2 separate regions of the Homo sapiens genome follow, and region 1 is linked to region 2. The links are contacts of gene promoters, found by promoter capture Hi-C in blood cells and fetal thymus (Javierre and others, 2016). All regions are on one chromosome and are shown on one strand. Each heading gives the region's core, a stretch centred on a gene start or on the middle of the fragment in contact. The rest is flanking DNA. Distances are from core to core; before and after follow the strand shown.

What was found. The method cuts DNA at HindIII sites, captures the fragments that hold promoters and counts their contacts. A CHiCAGO score of 5 or more calls a contact.
Region 1: a contact is called between a fragment that was not itself captured here and the fragment with the promoter of ZNF704 in region 2, in 1 of 17 cell types (fetal thymus). The highest score is 6.3, in fetal thymus.

Annotation. Positions count from the first base shown.
Region 1 is chr8:80,074,300-80,078,972 of GRCh38, reverse strand. The region is part of intron 1 of TPD52-MRPS28 (TPD52-MRPS28 readthrough); the gene reads left to right. All of the region lies in intron 1 of TPD52 (tumor protein D52), which reads left to right. Among named protein-coding and RNA genes, the nearest start is that of MRPS28, 46 kb to the right of the region's middle. The HindIII fragment of the contact is 2,383 bases long and covers 1,131-3,513 here.
Region 2 is chr8:80,873,208-80,877,727 of GRCh38, reverse strand. ZNF704 (zinc finger protein 704) reads left to right here and starts at 2,947. Exons shown (of 9, transcript NM_001033723.3): 1 at 2,947-3,157. RefSeq lists a silencer at 4,068-4,268. The HindIII fragment of the contact is 1,917 bases long and covers 2,703-4,520 here.

The DNA of each region.
Region 1 (4,673 bases), core at 1,073-3,572, 800 kb after region 2:
AAGATTGACACTGCTTGCTTCTTTTAGTTCCCTTCTACCCTTCTTGTCTCTTGGTTTCACCTCCTTTCATTTTCCAAGTTATGGTCATGGCTGCCTTGGGATGTTTTCTGTCAAAACCAGGGCAGTTGTAGGGTTGGGTGTACCTCTAGGCAGATTCTGAAAGATTATCTTCACAATTCCTGTTAGCTGTTCGAAGGAACCTGGGGTTGTGAGATTTAAAAAATTATTAAAAAGCAAATGAATAACAGTAATGAAAAACAAACTCATGTAGCTAGGTTTAGTAGTTTGCATTAATTGAAAGAAAAGAGGGTGAACAAGCATTAAAACAAGCAGAAACCACCCTCAGCAGTCATCTGTAAGAACACAGTGATTTTAAAATGGCCAAATAAAAGTGGGGGCCTGGAAGAGTGATTACTCATCTCTGTGCCCATGACCCCTCAGGGCATAAGAAGTCTGCACACCTGTCTGAACATCAAACATGGTTGGTCGATGGAATGAATAATGTGTCCTCCGTGTGTTTGCACTCTTTGTATTTCTACGTAGAAGCTTTTAGGACCAATACATTATGAATCCATTAAAAGTTCTTGTGGCTTTTGGCCACTATGTATTTTCTTAATCACCAGACAAGTAATACAGACAAGAAGGACTGATATAAAAAGGAATCCTACCCAGAGAGGTTGGGAATACTGATTTGAAAAGAGTGAAAAATATCTCTGATATTTATCCAAAATGCCATCATGGGGCAAACGGGAAAGTAATGAGATTTTATCTATGGGCAGGATGTTCCTAAGAAGTAATTAAAGCGAAGGTTAGGATGAGGACAGTGGCTGAAACAAAATGAAGCCTTTTATTAGGGAGTTTTAAACTCCTTTGACACAACCAACCCATATTCAGAAATGCCTTATACCTCCTTACCTGCAATCCTCACAAATATAAGAATCTATCAATAACTGAAGCAAAATTTTATGAACCAGAACTTCTCCTTACTATATGTGATGTACTCTGACATTTTATACTATTTGATGCCATTTCTTCTTTTAAAGTGCTCATCTGGTTCTGCTAACTGGATTTTACAACCCATAGTGTGAAAACACCAATTTATAATAGTTTCAGAATCTGGAACATAAGCTTTGTTTGTCTTTTTAGTTCACCTCTGTTTCCCCAAGCACCAAGAATAGTGCTTGACATTATATGGCTCAAAAACTTTGTGGAATGCATGAATGAATGAATGACACTGGTAAGGAGTCGTTCACACTCCAGTTCATTTTACGGATGTGAAGATTGAGGCTGAGAGACATATGTGATGTTCTCAACTCACAAAGTTTAGTTAGGCTAAGATAGGACTAGCACTCATCTCTTAATTCTTAAGCTAGTGGTTTGGTTTTTTGTTTTTTTTAGACCGCAACATCTCAGCCTCTCTGGTAATGGATATTATAGAACAGATTAACTATTCAAGGCTTAAGTTCTCCTTTGGTCAAGTGTTTTACCGTGGGAATAATTTGTTGATACTTTATACGCCACTTGGATCTCAACATTCTATTCCATCTTTGGGCTGAACATTATGAGGACCAGGGTCTCACAGCTGGGGTCTTTTGTTGCATTATCTCTTCCATTCTGTGAACACCCTTAAGGATAATATCCCAAATGTTATTTACATAGCACCTATCTTCCTCTTAAGAATTTTTTTTTTTTTTTTTTGAGACAGAGTCTTGCTCTGTCGCCCAGGCTGGAGTGCAGTGGTGCAACCTTGGCTCACTGCAACCTCTGCTTCCCGGGTTTAAGCGATTCTTCTGCCTCAGCCTCCCAAATACCTGGGACTATAGGTGCGCGTCACCACATCGTGCTAATTTTTGTATTTTTAGTAGAGACGGGGTTTCACCATATTGGCGAGGCTGGTCTTGAACTCCTGACCTCGTGATCCGCCTGCCTCGGCCTCCCAAAGTGCTGGGATTACAGGCGTGAGCCACTGGGCCGGGCCAGAATTTTCTTTTTTAAAAAAAACTTTTGGCTGGGCGCAGTGGATCATGCCTGTAATCCCAGCACTTTGGGAGTCTGAGGCGGGCAGATCACTTGAGCTCATGAGTTTGTGACCAGCCATCATGGTGAAACCCCATCTCTACCAAAAGTAAAAGAATTAATCGGGCATGGTGGCACACGTCTGTGGTCCCAGCTACTTGGGAGGCTGAGGTAGGAGGATTACTTGAGCCCAGGAGGGGATTGCAGTGAGCTGAGATCACACCACTGCACTCCAGCCTGGGTGACAGAATGAGACTCCATCTCAAAACAAACAAACAAAAAACCCTTTTATTTGAGGTTCAGGGGTGCATGTACAGGCTTCTTATATGGGTAAACATGTGTCATAGGGGTTTGATGTACAGATTCTTTCATCATCCAGATACTAAACCTGATACACAGTAGTGATTTTTTTTCCCTTTTTTTGCTCCTCTTCCTCCTCCCACCCTCCACCCTCTGGTAGGCCCCAGTGTCATTTGTTCCCCTCTTTGTGTCCATGTGTTCTCATCATTTTGCCCCCACTTATAAGTGACAAGGTGCCCTGTTTGGTTTTCTGTTCCTGTGTTAGTTTGCTAAGGATAATGGCCTCCAGCTCATCCATGTTCTTGCAAAGGATAGGATCTTGTTCTTTTTTATGGCTGCATAGTGTTCCATGGCATATATGTACCACATTTTCTTTATTCAGTCTATCATTGATGGGCATTTAGGTTGATTCCACCCTTTGCTATTGTGAATAGTGCTACAATGAACTTACGCATGCATGTGTCTTTGTGATAGAATGGTTTATATTCCTTTGGGTGTATACCCAGTAATGGGATTGCTGGGGAGAATTTTCTAATGTACAGGAAGATGCAGACTTGGCTTATGGCACCTTTGGTTATTTCTATTGACTTAAGGAATTATGAGCAATGGAAAAATCTGACATTTTAGTTTAACACGATCATATTTGATACTCTAGAAAGACTGAAAAATCAAACTGAAATTCCTTAGCTCATAGTTCTTTTCATTCTGTTTTACCCTTTTTGATTTTCACTCTGTGTCATTCTCACTTCTTTTTAGAGAAGTGGTTACCACTTCTTAAAAGTTTTTCATGATTGCATCAGTCTTAAATAGCAAACATGGCTGTGGTTTACAAAATAAAAACTGGAGTCAAATTGAAGAGATGTAGAATTTCCTTATTCCTAGAGAGGAAATTTAAGGATGGAAGAGACTTCCTCTCTGGGGATTCTGAGATTTCTGCATGGCTGACCTTTGTCACTCTTTTCTGGAATGTCCCAGTTACTAGTTTTATACTCAATTTTGGGGCAGGGGAGCAGAGCAGTGGGGAGAGGAGATGGCTCTGAAGTAATTGACTGAAGATTTTTTCTTTTAAAAAAAAATGAAAGAGATTTAAGGGTCCATTTAGAAATACCTGGAAGGACCAAGTAAAGCATTTGAAAATACTGTGTTTTACCTTGAGGATCGTTTCTTCTTTGTCCACTCTTTCTGTGAAGTGAAGCTTTGGGAGGTAACCTTCTGTCTTGGGTGGGGACATTGACCACTGTTCAGGGTCCTGCTTTCAGAGCTGAGTCCCAGGAGCACTTTGCACCCGATGTGGCTCCCAAGCGCTCCTTTCCCTTTTTGTCTTAGTGCAGCCCCTCCCCTCCTGCTCTGTTTCCTTTACTCTTTAATAACCCAGACATTGGCCAGGCGTGGTGGCTCACGCCTGTAATCCCAGCACTTTGGGAGGCCGAGGCAGGCGGATCATGAGGTCAGGAGATTGAGACCATCCTGGCCAACATGGTGAACCCTGTCTCTACTAAAATACGAAAAATTAGCCAGGTATGGTGGTGGGCGCCTGTAGTCCCAGCTACTCGGGAGGCTGAGGCAGGAGAATTGCTTGAACTTGGGAGGCAGAGATTGTAGTGAGCCAAGATCGCGCCACTGCACTCCAGCCTGGTGACAGACCAAGACTCCATCTCAAAAAATAAAAAAAAATAAAAAATAACCCAGACATTGTCCCCTTACGCTTGTGAGGAGCTTGGGTCTTCCCTTAAATGGAGTGGATCAAGTTTTCTCAGTTTTTTTCTTCCCTGCTACCTTGACTACAATTACCCAACTCGTTTTCCCCCTAAGGTTTTACTGTTCTTGCCATGGGCACACATGGGAAAATTCCAGCCTTAAGAATCTAAAGTTGTCACGGCCTGAGCTGCTGCATCCCTCTCTTCTGAAGGCACTCAGTGGCAGACAGCATCCTCTTAGATGCTCCCTCGCCTTAAGTCAGTGGTTCTCAACCACAGTTTTGCCCCACTGTGGGCATTTGACCATGTTTGTAGATACTCTTTTGGTTGTTACAACTGGGTGTGGGTGTGGGGCTGCTACTGACATCTGGTGAGTGGGCCTGAGATGCTACACAGGAAGATGCCCAGGGCAGTCCCTGCCACAGTCATCCACCGCATGACGCCCGTGGTGCCGTGCCTGAGAAGCGCTGCCTTAACTGGATGCTTAATCTTTTGGGTCTCCCGAAGACAACCATTGTGGTGTGGGGACTTGCAAATATTCCTCCCACTTCTGGGATTTTATTACATCCAGAAACAACAAGGCACAGAGAATGGGAGCCCCAGGCACAGACTTAACATGGGGAAAAAACATCCTGTGATCTTTCTGGATGTTACCACTAA
Region 2 (4,520 bases), core at 1,698-4,197:
CCTGGCACTTGTCAGGACTCAACAAATCCATGCAGAATGAACGATGAAATGTTTTAGATGAGGATGTGTTCAATCCAACTGTTCTGGAGGGGCTCCTTCTTTATCCCATGGCTCAGAGGCACATTTCCTCATTCTGAGTGGCAAGCGCTCCCAGTTTTGGAAGAAAAAAATGTGTTACACTTAGGGAATGTGGGGGAAAGAAGCAGCAATGACTCTTCCCCACTTGCTTGGCATCACAAGATACTTTTTGACTTCTGAGCCCATGTCATGCATGTAGTGTGTCATGTGCCCACATCATGAGATCTTTTCTTGATTCCTGATGAGTTAATTTGATTTTATTCCCACTAAGTGTCCTCTGATTTAATGAGGGTGGTCTTCAGTGGCCTGCACTTGCCTAGACAATGCTGCTCTCCCTGCCTGAACAGATCCTTCTCATCCCTCAAAGCCCAGCTTGGGTGAAACCTCTTTTTTGACATTAGCCTTCATTTAATGGTTTGAAAGCCAAGGCCAGGTCTTTTTTTTTTTTTTTTTTTTTTTTTTTTCCCATTCAGAGGCAGCCTTTCCAGCAATGTGGGGCCAGGGAATGGATGTCTATGAAGTCTATTGAAGTGGCCTAAGAGAAACAATAAGCTGATTTCAAAGCATATACAGCAATTTTAAAAGAATGTACAATAGTGTATCATCTTTCACTAAGTCACAAATGCCAATCACCAATTCATTTAACTCTGTATTTCCTCTAGGTTCTCAGGAAAACATTTACTTTCTTTCATCTATAGCAATTTTAGGCACAAAAAGCTACATGCTTGGCCTGACCATGGTCCTCCGATGACAAGTTGTTGGTCTTTAAAAGCACATTTTGCTAGTTACTGACATTACTGAGCTTACTTAAAAGAGAGCTACCTTGTTATTCTCTGAGAGTATCCCAAGCCACCTTGTTTACCTACCATTACAATGTTTAGTATGATAAGCCCGCATATAAACCCTAGCTTGTCCCAGGCACTCTTGTAAGCTGATTGCATTTATTCACTCATTACTCTGCAAAACAACTTTACTACTATGATCCCCATTTCACAGATGAGGAAACAGGCACAGAAAGAGGATGAGTAAAAGTAAAGCTGGTAAGTTCCAGAGTCAGGATTCGGACCTAGGTGCTCCTGAGACCATGTGCCTAACTACTAGCCAGCTTGCCTCACACCTTTGTCCTCCTCCACCTCCTCCATACCTGTCTGCCCACCCCTTGCCCCGATCTTTCCTTTTCATGGCCAGAGAAAGATCCTGCTGCCTCACTCTAAAATCATCTCCCAAATCAACGAAGCTAAATTTCTTCCAATTGGGATGAAACCACCTTAATGTTCTTTCTTAATTCTTTGCACACTCTAGCTGATACTGATTATTCACTTATTGGCTAGCCCCTGCTATTCCATGCTTTGATCAGACACACCCATCTCTTAATGTTCTGTTTTCTTCTCTCTGAATTCCTGAACAGAATATTTACAAATATAAAGTCCAACAAGAAAATGGTGTGATCTAAATGGGGTTTCGGAAACATAAATCTGGTGGTGGCATCTGAGGAGGGAAAGGGAGGGTGTGTGGGTGAGAAAATGGGTGTGTAGAACTGTTAGAAACTTCCACTTTTGAAGTCACAAAATGCTGTAAGAGCTTTGGGAATGGAAAGGAAGGGGTGGATTCAAAATGCATTTTAGAAAGAACAATGGGTTGGACTTGTGGGCAATTGCCTCTAGGGATAAGGTAGAGAAGGGAGTTAAAATGATACCGCTATTTTGGGCTCAAATGATTATAATGAGAGTTTCATCACCTGAAATAGGTACATCAGGAAGCTAATCTGATTCAGGGAGAACAAAAAGTTCATTTTAGAATCTTTGTCATCATCCCTGTTCAACAGTTGGAAGCCACCATAAGTGAGCATTTAATGAGCCCCATTCAAGTGTCTAACAGAGCATATGATGTTAAATGTCCAACAATAATTAACTGAAGGTGAATACACCTTTTATTCTGGCCCCACGGAGGTGCCTACCAGGGTATTTGATGCGTAAGATCCTCCCCAGCCCTCCTCTACAGGGATGGAATTGGGGGTATGATTTGAATGTAAGAAATACGACTTAAGGCCGGGCACGGTGGCTCACACCTGTAATCCCAGCACTTTGGGAGGCCAAGGCAGGCAAATCATCTGAGGTCAGGAGTTTGAGACCAGCCTGGCCAACATGGTGAAACCCTGTCTCTACGAAAAATACAAAATTAGCATGGCATGGTGGAGCGCGCCTTTAATCCCAGGTACTCAGGAGGCTGAGGCAGGAGAATCGCTTGAACCCAGGTGGCGGAGGTTACAGTGAGCCCAGACCATGACATTGCACTCCAGCCTTGGCAACAAGAGCGAAACTCCATCTGAAAAATAAAGAAATATATATAAATAAAAATTAAAATAAATAAAAGAAGAAATACCACTTACTACATAGCCTAACCCCACGCAATAGCAAATATATTTTCTTTATCACACCTAAAAATCGTCAGAAAATGGCAAAATTAGTCATGTTATGTGCTTGATTTCCAGATTTGGTCTTACTTCATATTAATTTCTTAAGTAACCAACTCAAACGATCTTGAACTCCCACCCATTTGTTTCTTCAAAGTCCTGAACAATGCCAGAAGAGAGTCTACAGATCAGACAGTGCAAACAGAAAGCTTCTTGGAATTCAGCCATTAAAATCAGGCACTCAAGGTAGAATAGCAGGAGTAAAAGCTGAAAGACCTACACACTCAGCACAGAGCCAAGGCAGCTCAATCGCAGGGCCTAGAGTGGTGCGTTCAAAGAGTGTGAGATTGGTAGACAATCGCTCATGAAACAGTGTTTCGAAAATCTAAGCGACTCTGATGATTCATATTAGGAATTCATCCCAAACCTCAGATTGGTACACCTTCCTTGATTTCACACAAGCTCAGGAGTAGCTGCCATGCACATCAGTGTCCATTAAAATGACTTGTAGCAAATCTCTACGTTCAAAGTCTAACTTTGACAGACAACCTTACTTCCAGCGAAGTCTACTCCCCTCCCTCCGGAGGGAAGAATGGGCTGCGGTTAAGCGTTTGCCCTGGTGTCAGGGCCAACTGCTTCGAAGCGCCAGACTTTCGGAGACTGTGGGTAAGAGAAAAAAAAAATCCAGTCCGGGTTTTGTCTGAGCGGGGGGACCGGAGGGTTGTGAGGAATGGCTCGCGAAGAGGGGGGCGGTGGTGGAAAACATACAACACAAACAGCTCGCGCCGAGGCACGGCAGCGGTAGGCCCGGAGCGCGCGGGCGCAGCCGGCCGGGAGAGGCGCGCGCGGGCTCGGCCGCCGGCCGCATGGAGCGCAGCGCGGCCCGCGGCTCCCGGGCGGCGGCGGCGGCGGCGGAGGCGGCAGCGCGCCGCTCGCTCACACCCACCCCCGCCCGCGGCCGCCGCGCCGCCCCGCCGTAGCCGCCGGCCGCCGGCGTCCCCGCCGGCCGGTCCAGCGAAGGCGGCGCCCGCGCCTCTGCAGCCAGTGGCAGCCGCGGGTCCTGGCCGGCGGCTCCTGCAGCCCCTTGCGGCCGCGAGTCCCCGGCCCTGCGGCCACCGGCGGAGGCAGAGGAGGAAGAGGAGGTGACAAACTCTCCGGCCCCGCGCCGCGGCCCGCAACCCCGCGCTCAGGCATGCAGGCGCGGCGTCTAGCCAAGCGCTCCAGCCTGGGCAGCCGCCGGGGGGGCGCCGCGCTGCAGCCTGCCGGGCCGGCGCCCGCGCCCGCCAAGGAAGCCGCCCTACCCGGGCTCCCGCCCCCTGTCCCGGGCCCGGCCCCGGCGCCCGCCCCGGAGAGCTGGAGGCCGCCGCTGCCGCCGCCGCCGCGCAGCGCCGGGACCGGCCCCCCTCGGGCCACCGGGGCCGCCGCCGCCGCCTCGTCGCCGGTGCTGCTGCTTCTAGGGGAGGAAGACGAGGACGAGGAGGGCGGGAGCAGGCGGCGGAGGGGGCTCGGGCGTGTGGAGGAGAAGCCCCGAGGGGGCGCGGAGGAGGAGGATGACGACGAGGAAGAGGAGGACGAGGAGGTGGTCGTCGAGGTGGTGGACGGCGACGAAGACGACGAGGACGGCGAGGAGCGTTTCGTGCCCCTCGGACCCGGCCACGCAGTCCCCAGGGGCCCGGCCCGGGGCGCGTTGAAGGTGCGTGTTGGGCGCGGTGGCGCGCGTGGGACCCGCCAGCCCGGGGAGGGGGACGGGCCCGGGCCCCGGGGCAAGGCGCCTGGCCGAGGACGGTCAGCGGCGCCGGGGAGAGACCCGGCCAGGAGGGGTGTGTCAGGCGGCGCGGGCGGCCGCGCGGGGCAGCGCGAGGAACTGTTGATTTGCCTGCGCCTTGGGCCCCTGCGTCTCTCCCAGGCGGCGGCTCCCGCTTTCCTCAAAGGCCGTGTCGGGTTTGTTGTTTGGTGTGGGTGCCGGGAAAGGGCGCTTCTCCCCAGTGAGGTGGGGAACTTGGGTGATGGGACCACGGAGGCGCCGGTT